2 separate regions of the Homo sapiens genome follow, and region 1 is linked to region 2. The links are contacts of gene promoters, found by promoter capture Hi-C in human tissues and cell types (Jung and others, 2019). All regions are on one chromosome and are shown on one strand. Each heading gives the region's core, a stretch centred on a gene start or on the middle of the fragment in contact. The rest is flanking DNA. Distances are from core to core; before and after follow the strand shown.

Evidence for each region. Contacts are between HindIII fragments. The study calls those that stand out against the background at their distance.
Region 1: a fragment that was not itself captured here is called in contact with the fragment with the promoter of SPATA31E1 in region 2 in 1 of the 25 tissues and cell types used here (H1 embryonic stem cells).

Annotation. Positions count from the first base shown.
Region 1 is chr9:88,026,397-88,032,692 of GRCh38, forward strand. No RefSeq gene overlaps it. Among named protein-coding and RNA genes, the nearest start is that of LINC03026, 48 kb to the right of the region's middle. RefSeq lists an enhancer at 1-168. The HindIII fragment of the contact is 6,094 bases long and covers 216-6,296 here.
Region 2 is chr9:87,879,716-87,885,978 of GRCh38, forward strand. It overlaps SPATA31E1 (SPATA31 subfamily E member 1), which reads left to right and starts at 3,162. Exons shown (of 4, transcript NM_178828.5): 1 at 3,162-3,485; 2 at 4,277-4,331; 3 at 4,876-4,936; 4 at 5,198-6,263. The coding sequence starts at 3,177. The region is part of intron 3 of LOC497256 (a long non-coding RNA gene); the gene reads right to left. The HindIII fragment of the contact is 13,080 bases long and covers 60-6,263 here.

The DNA.
Region 1 (6,296 bases), core at 2,013-4,512, 150 kb after region 2:
TGGCTTGCAGAAGGCTGAGGCTGTATTCTCCCTGTGTCCCCACTGTGTGTGTCTATGTCCTCATCTCTTTTTTTTTTTTTTTTTTTTGAGACAGAGTTTCGCTCTTGTTTCACAGGCTGGAATGCAATGGCGCAATCTCGGTTCACTGCAACCTCCGCCTCCTGGATTCAAGCGATTCTTCTGCCTCAGCCTCCTGAGTAGCTGGGATTACAGGCATGCGCAACCACGCCTGGCCAATTTTGTATTTTTAGTAGAGACAGGGTTTCTCCATGTTGGTCAGGCTGGTCTCGAACTCTCGACCTCGGGCGATCCTCCTGCCTCGGCCTCTCAAAGTGCTGGGATTACAGGTGTGAGCCGCTGCACCCAAGCCTTTTCTTATGGGACCCAGTCAGATTGGATTAGGGCCCACACATCCATATGACATCATTTTTAATTGATTACCTCTGTAAAGGCCCCTCCTCCAAATATAGTCACCTTCTGAGGTTCTTGGGGTTAGCATTTCAACATATGACATTTGAGAGGCACCATGCAGCCATCACACGGAATAATCTGTTAGTTTCAGTACTCAGGGTCTGCTCTGTTAGGACACACACTCCCAAAGAATTGCTTTTAGACCTTGGTCCTAAATGATTTTTCCTTTAAAAAGCTGGTATTCTTATTTTTATTTATTTATTTTTTTGAGACGGAGTCTCGCTCTATTGCCCAGGCCGGAGTGCAGTGGCACAGTCTCGGCTCAGTGCAACCTCTGCCTCCCAGGTTCAACAGATTCTCCTGCCTCAGCCTCTCGAGTAGCTGGGACTACAGGTGCCCACCACCACGCCTGGCTCATTTGTTTTTTTTTTTTGTATTTTGTTGTAGAGATGGGGTTTCACTGTGTTAGCCAGGATGGTCTCGATCTCCTGACCTCATGGTCCACCTGCCTCGGCCTCCCAAAGTGCTGGGATTACAGGTGTGAGCCACCGCGCCTGGGTCCTAGCTTGCTCTTTTATGTGGGCAGCAATGTGCCTGGAACCCTCCTCACCTCTTATTGACATCCTTGTCCTTGCAGGAGGACTCTAACCTTAAATTGTTATCACCCAACCTTGTCTGTGACATCCAGATTCCAAAAGTAATAAAATTTTAAATGAAATAAACTGGTAATGAATAAAGCAGTCATGAACTGTCTTTATCAAATAAAGGACCTTTTGGTACCAAAGTGATTCATACATACAAAAAAAGTCTAGGAATATAAGAGTCTTACTGCCAAGCACAGTGGCTCATGCCTGTAATTCCAGCACTTTGGGAGGCCAAAGCGGGTGGATCACCTGACGGTGGGAGTTTGAGACCAGTCTCTACTAAAAATACAAAATTAGCCGGTGTGGTGGCACATGCCTTGTAATCCCAGCTACTCAGGAGGCTGAGGCAGGAGAATCACTTGAACCCAGGAGGAGGAGGTTGCAGTGAGCCGAGATCTTGCCATTGCACTCCAGCCTGGGCAACAAGAGCGAAACTCCATCTCAAAAAAAAAAAAAAGGTCTTACTTTTGCATTCTTGTTCTTACATTTTGTCTGTCAAAGTCAATAGAGGATCCATTTACTTGTGAAATTAGTTTCCTAACCATATGCCATCCTTCCTCCTAACTCCGTAATTTTCTTTTTCTTTTTTTTTTTTGAGATGGAGTCTCACTCAGCTGCCCAGGCTGGAGTGCGGTGGCGTGATCTCAGCTCGCCGCAACCAACATCTCCCAGGTTCAAGAGATTCTCCCGTCTCAGCCTCTCAAGTAGCTGGGAATACAGGCACCCGCCATCATGCCCGGCTAATTTTTGTATTTTAGTAGAGTCAGGGTTTCACCATGTTGACCAGGCTGGTCTTGAACTCCTTACCTCAGGTGATCCACCCACCTCGGCCTCCCAAAGTGCTGGGATTACAGGCATGAACCACAGCGCTCGGCCCTAACACCGTAATTTTTGCATGGTACAATGTAAGCTATTTCTGCTTAAAACTAAAATATGCTTGTAATTGACAGCAAGATAAGCATAAGGTTTTGCATGACTCAGCCAGGTTAATCAAAGAGGATGGTTGCTATTTTGGGAGAAAGGAAGTTAATTAAATATGTAACTAATTTTATATTAGAGAAAACTAATATAATTAAACTGCAGTTTTGAGTGGTATGAGTCAGTATGATGATTAAGAGTGGGAGTCATGAAAAAATACAGTATTTATTAACTATCGGGGGATTGACATATGAAGTCTTCAAAAAGTTTGGGATGGGCTTGGTTATGTGTAATCGTCATGAATTTTTTGTTCAAGTATTTAAAATGTTCAGTGAAAGCTATATAACTACATTACAAACTTTATTTGTGATTTCTAGCAATCTTCCAAGTGAGGTGGAGAAATTAAAGATCTAGAATGCACCTCTGTTGGCCGGAAGCAGTGGCTCTTGCCTGGAATCCCAGCACTTTGGGAGGCCGAGGCAGGCAGATCACGAGATCAAGAGATCGGGACCATCCCGGCCAACATGGTGAAACACTGTCTCTACTAAAAATAAAAAATTAGCTGGGCACGGTGGCGGGTGCCTGTAATCCCAGCTACTCGGGAGGCTGAGGCAAGAGAATCGCTTGAACCCAGGAGGCGGAGGTTGCAGTGAGCCGAGATAGCACCACTGCACTCCAGCCTGGCAACAGAGTGAGACTCCATCTGAAAAAAAAAAAAAAAAAGAGAACCTCTGTGTGGAGGAAAACAATTCTATTAGAGGAAATAAAAGGCACAGGGAGGGCACAGGGAGGAATGTCATATTATTTTGGTACAAGCAGATTTCCAAATACTTAATTAGCAAAAAGTGTTTATCAGAAATCTTGTTTTCTTCTGTATGTTTCATCACACTTTAAATTAGCAAAGAATATTGCCTTTCATCAACATCAAGATGAGGAGAGATAAATTCTGCGTGTTGCAAGGAAGAAGAAAAATAATGAGTAAGGAAGGAGCTCATTGTAAGGATGATTCTTGGCAGAAGCAAGTGGTAGCTCACAGAGGGTGGTGGTAGTGAGAAAATGGTTCCTGTCCTCCACCCCAGGGCTCAACCTTCAGATTTGTGCTTATGTCTGGTCTCCAGCCAGGGGCAGAGAAGAACTGAAGGATAAAACAGGAAAACCTATTGAGAGGGGCAACTGAGATCCTCAATCATAGGTTACTGTAAGGTGAAAATTGCCTGCTCTTTCTTTCTTTCGTTTTTTTCTTTGAGCAGAGTTGCTCTGTCACCCAGGCTGGAGTGCAGTGGCACCATCTCGGCTCACTGCAACCTCTGCCTCCCAGATTCCAGCTATTCTCCTGCCTCAGCCTACTGAGTAGCTGAGACTACAGGTGCCCGCCACCACGCCCAGCTAATTTTTGTATTTTTAATAGAGATGGGGTTTCACCATGTTGGCCAGGCTGGTCTTGAACTCCTGACCTCATGATCTGCCCACCTCGGCCTCCCAAAGTGCTGGGATTACAGGCATGAGCCACCATACCCAGCCTGCCTGCTCTTTCAAATGGAATCCTACAGTTGTCACATCTGGGGTACGTGCACTATTGTCTTTATTGTAAAGGAAAACTGGCATTTACATGGTGTCTCAGTTTGCTTGGGCTATTGTAACAAAGTACAGCAGGTCCTAGAATAAGGTCATTTTGTTTTTATTTATTTTGAGACAGGGTCTTGCTCTGTTGCCCAGACTGAAGTGCAGTGGCACAATCATGGCTCAAGTGATCTTCCTCCGTCTCAGCCTCCCAAGCAGCTGGGACAACAGGCCCCTGCCACTATTTCTGGCTAATTTTTAAAAAATATTTTTTGTAGAGACTGGAGTCTTCCTGTGTTGCCCAGTCTGGTCTCAAACTCCTGTGCTGAAGCGATCCTACTGCCTCAGCCTCCCAAAGTGCTAGGATTATATCCATGAGCCACCTCCCCTGGCCTCAACAGGTCTTTATTATAAGGTCGATGAGAAAAGAATAATCCTCACCTGGGGCCACTACCTGTGTTGGAGTCTGTCTGCATGTTCTCCCCATGTCTGTGTGGGTTTTTTCTGGGTGCTCTCGTTTCCTCCTTGATCCCATGATTGTGCCCATTAGGTGAACTGATGTGTCTACGTGGTCCCAAGGTGAGTGAGGGTGGGCATGTGTGTGAGTGCGCCCTGCAAAGGGAGAAGCGTGCTGTAGGAACTTAACTCTTGTTTATATCAATTAGCCTATTGATTAGAAAATTGATTTTGTTATACATCATTTCACTTAAAGTTAGTTTCCAAGAACTTACTGACAATGTTAAGTGAGGGCTTTCTGTATCACAGACTGGACAGCTTAAACAACAGAAATTTGTTTTCCCACAATTCTGGAGCCCGGAAGTCTGAGATCAAGGCATCTGCGGTGTTGTTCTTTCCTGAGTCCTCTCTCCTTAGCTTTGCAGATGGGCGTCCTTGCCCTGTGTCCTCATCTCCTCTTCTGATAAGGAACACCAGTCATATTGGATTAGGTTCCACCTTAAGGACCTCAGTTAACCTTAGTTACCTCTTTATTTTTTATTTTAATTAATTAATTAATTTATGTATTTATTTTGAGACAGAGTCTCACTGTGTCACCCAGGCTGGAGTGTAGTGGCTCACTGCAACCTCTCCCTCCCGGGTTTAAGCAATTCTCCTGCCTCAGCCTCCTAAGTAGCTGGGACTACAGGCATGCGCCACCACACCCAGATAATTTTTGTAGTTTTAGTACAGGCAGGGTTTCTCCATGTTGGCCAGGCTGGTTTCGAACTCCTGACCTCAGGTGATCTGCCCGCCTTGGCCTCCCAAAGTGTTGCAATTACAGGTGGGAGCCACCACGCCTGGCCTGTTATCTCTTTAAAGACCCTGCCTCCAAATACAGTCACATTCTGAGACGCTGGTGGTTGGGACTTCAACACACGAATTTCGGGTGTCCAGAGGACAGAGTATTATCTGCCATAGCAAACTGACACACACGGCTTCCAGCCAGGAGCATCTTGGAAAAGCTTTTGTCAGAAAGTGAGTCCAGGACTTGGCAACTATACCATGTGTGTCCCCTCTGAAGGGGACAAAGCCCAACCAGTTATTAACCACTCATGTGGGGTGCCTTTGGTTAATTAGAGTAAAGGGAGTCCAGTGGTAGGTGTTCTACTTCCAAGGAACAAGACACTGATAGATTTACAATGTTTAGTAACAGCTAAATCACAGATGTTGATGGGACCCTGATGTCTTTGGTTTTAAAATGGTAAATATGTTTCCTGAAGTATGAAAAACCTCCTATGTAGCAAATGCTGAGAAATACCATGGTGACAGTATTTTTGTGAGCCTGTCACCACAGACAGAGCCAGTGCAATAATGCATCAGTCCCCTTCACCAGCCTCATGCTCTTCTTTATTCTAAAGAAGTGAGCAGGGAGAGGGCCACGGTCCAGTATGGGAAAATGAGCCCTTTCAATGACAAAATTTAAATGTAATGAGCATTAAATGAGCATATTAATTCACAGGAGCAGTTGGTGCTTCTGCCTGAAAGTGGAGAAACGCATGTTTCCAGGGAAGCAGAGACACAGTGGCAGGGTGACACAGCCAGTGCTCACACAGCATCCCTCCGGTGGGCAATCCGCAGTGCAAGGCCACCACACAGCAATGCCACTCCACTGGCAGGGGCTTTGTAGCAGGGATTCTCAAAGGGCATCCTCACACAGCAGCATCGCCGTCAGCTGGAAAAGTATCAGAAATGCAGATTCTTGGCCAGGTGCCATGGACCATGCTTATAATCCCAACATTTTGGGAGGCTGAGGCGGGAGGATCACTTGAGCCCAGGAGATCGAGGCTGCAGTGAGCCGTGATTGTGCCACTGCACTCCAACCTGGGCAACGGAGCTGAGATCCTGTCTCAAAAAATGCAGATTCTTGGGCCCCATCCCAGATCCACTGAATCAAGAACTCTGGGTGTGGGCACAGCAATCAGTATTTGAACCTCTGTGTAGGTAGAGCAAAAATGCAAGACACACAGTTACATTTCATTTTAGATAAGTGACATCATTTTTTAATATGAGTATGTCTCAATTATTGCATGGGACATGTTTAATACTAAAATGATTTGTTGTTTAACTGAAATTCACCTTTAGCTGGGGTACTGTTTTGTTTGTTTGTTTGTTTGTTTTTTAGACAGAGTCTCTCTCTTTCGCCTAGGCTGAAGTGCAGTGGCGTGATCTTGGCTCACTGCAACCTCCACCTCCCAGGTTCAAGTGATTCTCCTGCCTCAGCCTCCCGAATAGCGGGGATTACAGGCACATGCCACCACGTCCGGC
Region 2 (6,263 bases), core at 1,912-4,411:
ACAGGGTTTCACTATGTTGGCCAGGCTGGTCTCAAACTCCTGACCTCAGGTGATCCACCCACCTCAACCTCCCAGAGTGCTAGGATTACAGGCGTGAGCCACTGCGCCCAGTCAACAAGAACAATTTATCCAAGAACTCTGTTGGTATAACTAAGATTATCTTTTTTATCATATAAAAAATTGTCTTCCTATAATCCGTATGTATAATTGCATAATAACTATAAAATTTGGATGCCTAAGCATTTATGTGTACCAAAGGGTTCATAGAATCAATAATCTGTACTGTTTCCACTGTTCTTCAAGTAGATTTCTAGATTAACTATGAAGTCCAAAGGAAGACTGTCAGCAGGATGATCATTTTTTCTTGCCCACCAGATGCACACTCGCAGCACTCCCCTGCCAGCCCGTATTCCCCCATCCGTTTTCCTCATGCGGAAATTAGGGAAGCAGGAGCGCACAGGGGTCCACAAAGGCTGACAATGAAAACACACTGAAATGTACCTCAAGGTCTCTACTGAGACATTCAGACATTGACTATGATAAGGCTGTGCAGCTGAGGTGCACGAATTTCACGTGTATGCAACATGAGAGATATTTGCAGGAAGTTAAGCTTCACGATGGGAAATGCCTGTGTGGGTGTATTTGTTTGTTTTAAATACTTAAGGATGATCAGAGACTATGGGGGGAAAAGCTGTTCTTCCTAAGAGAAATTCACTCTCATTTTCTAAGGAATTCTTCCCCTTTCCTCTGCTTCCCTGCAGGAAACGTGGAGTGAGACCAAAGCTGTGACTCCAGTCCACACCAGAGCCCAGGAAGACTCCCAGGACCCTGGAGATGCCTGAGGACCAGGGGCTTGTGGTATGCGGGAAGGAGGGTTCTACAGTCACCATGAGGAACAGCAATTGGCTGTAGTAAAATACGGACTGACAAAGGCAGGAAGGCAAAAGGCACCCAGGTTCGCCCAGGTGAGATGAGAGGCCCAGTTCTTCCGAGGTAGGTGTGGTGTCCCTCAAAAGCCCCCAGGGTTCTGTTGTGGGCACCACAGTGTCTGGAAGTGTGTGTGGTTGGCGGGGCGGGGGGGGGGTTTGTCAAGGAAGGGCCTTGAGGCTCATTTCCCCTGCAGCAGCAGGAGCAAGGGGCTGGCACTGGGAAGCCTCGCCCTCGTTGCAGCAGGCAGGTGGGTGGATGGTTGGATGAACAGCATAACCCTGCAGTGAAGTCTGTGGAGGGAACAGAGGTGCATGGATGGAGACATGCACACAGCCCACCAGAGACTGGGAACCCCCACACCCACATGGTCCTCTCATTTATCCAGAAAGGCGAACATCAGGTTTGAGGAGGAATGGAACCTAAAACAAATCTTTTCCCTAAATGTGGAGCTGATGCGACCAGTTGTCTCTGCTCTCCAGTTCCTGTTTCTCACACAGAGCGCACCTACTGACCTGGCAGTGGCTTGTTGGGAGGCGATTCCTTGCATGCCCAAGCCCAATTGCATAGGTCAAGATGAGACCCACTTCTCAGGCTTCAGTTCCCTGCAAATGAAGTAGAACTTAGGACCCCCATACTTCCCAGTGATCCTAGCAGGCGTCACTGGGGTCTCCACTCTTGCCAGTTAACCCAGTTGACCACATTAGGGACTGTCATGCCTCCCCAGTGACAATCTCATAAAGGAGGAAGAGACTGTAGACAGATAAAAGCAGCAGTAGATGAAGCAGATATGCTCTTGAAGATGCATGTTCATGAGAACAGACCCAAATAGACTCAGATGGTCTCACTCCCATTGAGGCTATATAGAACGCATGACAAAGATATACATGATTTTCAAGGCCACTTTTCAAGTATTAAATAAATGTATCACATAGTGATTAAAAAGTGCAATCTCTAATCCTGAGTTTCTGCTGCCCAAAAGATGTCTAATAGTATAATGAGAACATTTCCTCCAGGGCTCAAAGTATGCTCCCTATCAGGTACAGGCCAGACATGAGGCCCCAGTGGTCTGGAGCAGGCAGGAGGTGAAAAACAGGACACACTGTGGAGCAGAGAATACAAATGGGAGGCCGAGGCGGGCGGATCACAAGCTCAGGAGTTCAGGACCAGCCTGGCCACTATGGTGAAACCTGGTCTCTACTAAAGATACAAAAATTAGCTGGGCATGGTGGCACACTTCTGTAGTCCCAGCTACTTGGGAGGCTGAGGCAGGAGAATCGCTTGAACCCAGGAGGCAGAGGTTGCAGTGAGCCGAGATCATGCCACTGCACTCCAGCCTGGGCAACAGAGTGAGACTCCGTTTCAAAAAAAAAAAAAAAAAGAATATGTACGGAGGACACGAGTGATCTCAGAAGAGTCTGCTGAACACTGGACTTGAGCCTGGCACGGAATGCCCAGTCCCGCTCTCCACCCAAAGGAGCTGGACCTCAGATCACCCCAAACCACTCCTGGCTCATGGTGGAGCACACATGTTCCAAAACTTAGGAAAGTGAGGACTGTATTTGGGGCAGAGAAAGAAAAAATGGATCAGGACAACATATGAAAGATCTAAAGAAAATAAGTAAAGGCTTAATTATTGTTTTGAAAATAATTTGTCAAAGTGTTTGAGGTTTTTTTACAGCAAGCTCCATAATTCGGTAACTCAAAATTATGTTCCTAATATAAAAATGTCATTTGGAGGTTTAATTATTTGTAATTTTTATACTTTTTAGTTTTGTAAATTTAAGAGTTCTATTCTGGGTTGATGAAAGTAGAAAATGTAAGGTGTGGGAAAATTACAAAAACAGAGGAGATTCTGAAATAATCCTTAAGAAACCACCTAAATTCCTAGGAGAATTTCACAGTTTCAAAGGCTATGAAATGGGTGGGCTCAGGCCTAGATCTCCAAGGTACAAGGAGAGCCAGGTGACACCTGTGTTCCAGGGGAAGAGAATAGAAAATGGACTGAGGACTGTCTCTGACAGGGTGAGCAGCTGGAGTGGGAAGGAGCGATTTGGGGGACCCAGGAGGGTGGAGGGACTGGGGGCTGGGAGCTGAGGGCGGGGCTGTGCTTCAGCCTCCTCCTCCCACTGCCCCTCCCCCACCCCCAGGAGCCCTTTGTGAGGAGGAGGCCCCAGCTGTGTGATACAAGCCTGGGCCCCAGTCCCTAGTCCCAAAGGGGATGCCCAGAGCTCAGTTGCTTGAAGGCGATGGGAAATCTCGTCATCCCTCTAGGGAAGGGCAGGGCAGGCAGGGTTGAGAGTGGGCAGAGGATTCCACCCCCAGCTCCCAGACCATCTGTGGAGTGCACAGGAGACGACATTGCACTTCAGATGGAGAAAATGCTCTTTCCTCTGAAGAGCCCTAGTGCCACATGGCTGAGCCCTAGCTCCACTCCCTGGATGATGGATTTCATCCTCACCAGTGTGTGTGGCCTAGTGCTCCTCTTCCTATTGCTCCTCTACGTCCACAGTGACCCACCCTCACCCCCGCCCGGGAGGAAGAGGAGCAGCAGGGAGGTAAGGAGTCCTCAGCCCAGCCCCACAGAGAAAGATTCTCTCTTCTTTTCCTCCCCTCATTTCCACTTTTCCTAAGCAATGTGAGACCCTTCTGTGATGGGAAATCTCGTCATCCCTCTAGGGAAGGGCAAGGCAGGCAGGGGTGAGAGTGGGCAGAGGATTCCATCCCGAGCTCATCTGTGGGGTGCACAGGAGGCGTCAGGGCAAAAACCAACACTGGACTCAGTGGCAAGGACCGGGTCAGGAGAGGGGTGAGGTCTCTGTGGGAGGAGAGGCCCCAGCCCTGGCTCATCACCCCCTTCCTGGGGCAGGTGCCTGGGGGCCCAGCCTCCTCTGTATGATCTGGGTGTGATCTGGGAGCTGTGCTGAGCTCCTGAGAGCCTCCCAGTAGAGCCTGGATTCGCCTGTGGCTGCACCCCGGCCACATGTGCTTTTTCCTCCTTCACCACAGCCCCATGGTACCCTGGCCTCCTCTCCATTCTCATCCAAAGCAGAATCCTACTGGCAGCTCAGAGGCGCCTGTGGGCCTGAGCCTAGGTGTTCCTTGAGCGGAGGAGCAGGGACTGGGGACAGCCAGGTTGGAGTCACACAGACAACCCTTCCTTGCATTTCCCTAAGAAGGAAAACAGAAAACATTTCATTCACGGTAAACATGAGTAAAAAGCACACACAGAGCTCCCTGAGCTAGAGGCTGAGAGCCGTGTCCCTCATGAGCACTGCGTGTGTGCAGCTGGTCTGGGGAGAGGAGACTGAGAACTGGTCCCAGCCCCTCATCCTTTCTTGCCTCTCAGCCTCAAAGGGAGAGAAGCGGGAGGTCCAGGAGCAGGAAGATCTCAGCTCTGAAAGGTGAGGCTCTGCTGCCCCCCGGGACTCCCCAGAGGTAACTGAGCTTTGCCTGTCCCTGAGGAAGTCATTTGCAGAGGCCTGAGAGGGAAGCTCCTGGGAGAGAAATCAGAACCTGCGGCCTCCTCAGATTCCCTGCGGGAATGAAGCCACGGGCCTGGGACCGGTATTGCCCATAAGGGGGCGGTGTGGGGAAGGGACCAAGGCCTGCCTGGATATGGGGGGAGGTCAGGGAGGCTCCAGGTCCATGTGGACAGCTGTTCACCTCAGCAATGGCTGACTCCTCTTTGAGACCACCCATTTGCTCTCCCAACAAGATGGTTGTGACACCGATGAGGGGGTGGACGTGGAAGCACTTTTTGCAAATGACAAAGTGCTGCACAGTGGAAACCTTCCTGTCACCATTGGGGCCATGTGGCCTCGGACACAGATGCGAGGGCTTCAGGGTCTAGTCCCCCATGGTGTCCCCTAAAAAGACATCCACTCAGCCTCCATGAGGTTCCCAGGCACCGCCCTCTCCACCATAACCCTGTCTCCTGATTTCCAGCTTGCAGAATCCTCCTGAGGGAGCTGGAGGAGACTCGGGACCTGAACTACCTTCTGGAAAGGTGAGGAGCTTCCCCCTTCTGTCCCTGTCCTCCTTCCTACCAGGGCCTCTGATGCAACCCTACGGCCTGGTGGTGATCTGGGAGGGGGAGGTCCCGGGAAGGGGACAGGAGGGGACTGAAGCCCTGGGGCAGGCTTAGGCAGAGCTTTATGAAGTCAGCAGTTGGGGAGGTGGAGGAACCGGGGGCCCCAGGTGCCCACCCGTCCCAGCTTCCCGGCCCCATCTACCCCTGGCTGCAGCTTGTGCCTCTTGTCTCCTGCAGCCACCTGAGGAAGCTCGCTGGCGAAGGCAGCTCCCACCTGCCCTTAGGTGGAGACCCCCTGGGGGACGTGTGTAAACCAGTGCCTGCTAAGGCCCACCAGCCGCATGGGAAATGCATGCAAGATCCGTCTCCTGCCAGCTTGTCCCCACCAGCTCCCCCAGCTCCTCTGGCCTCCACCCTGTCACCAGGCCCGATGACCTTCTCAGAGCCTTTTGGACCACACTCAACCCTGAGTGCCTCCGGGCCACCAGAGCCCTTGCTTCCCCTAAAATGCCCTGCAACCCAGCCACATGTGGTTTTTCCTCCTTCACCACAGCCGCATGGTCCCCTGGCCTCCTCTCCACCTCCACCCGACTCCAGCCTGGCTGGACTTCAGTGTGGCTCCACAACATGCCCCGTCCCCCAGAGCTCCCCTCTACACAACCAGGTGCTGCCTCCTCCAACCAGGGTGATCTCTGGCCTGGGGTGCTCCAGCGATCCCATCTGGGACCTCTATTGCTGGAGGGAGGCTGCCACCACCTGGGGCCTCTCCACCTACTCACATGGCAAATCCCAGCCACGGCATCTTCCCGACCACACCTCAGAGGCTTCCTTCTGGGGAGACCCCACACCCAAGCACATGGAGGTAGGTGGCTGCACATTCATCCACCCTGACGTGCAGAAGCTGCTGGAGACCCTCATCGCCAAGAGAGCACTGATGAAGATGTGGCAGGAGAAAGAAAGAAAACGGGCCGACCACCCGCACATGACATCACTGGGGAAGGAGTGGGACATCACGACCCTAAATCCCTTCTGGAACGTGTCAACCCAGCCACAGCAGCTGCCCCGTCCTCAGCAAGTCTCTGATGCCACAACCGTGGGGAACCACTTACAGCAGAAACGCAGCCAGCTTTTCTGGGACCTCCCCTCTCTCAATAGCGAGTCCCTGGCGACCACAGTCTGGGTTTCTAGGAACCCTTCCTCACAGAATGCACACTCTGTACCACTGGATAAAGCCTCCACTTCTCTTCCAGGTGAACCTGAGGTTGAGGCATCCTCACAGCTTTCCCAGGCACCGCCCCAGCCC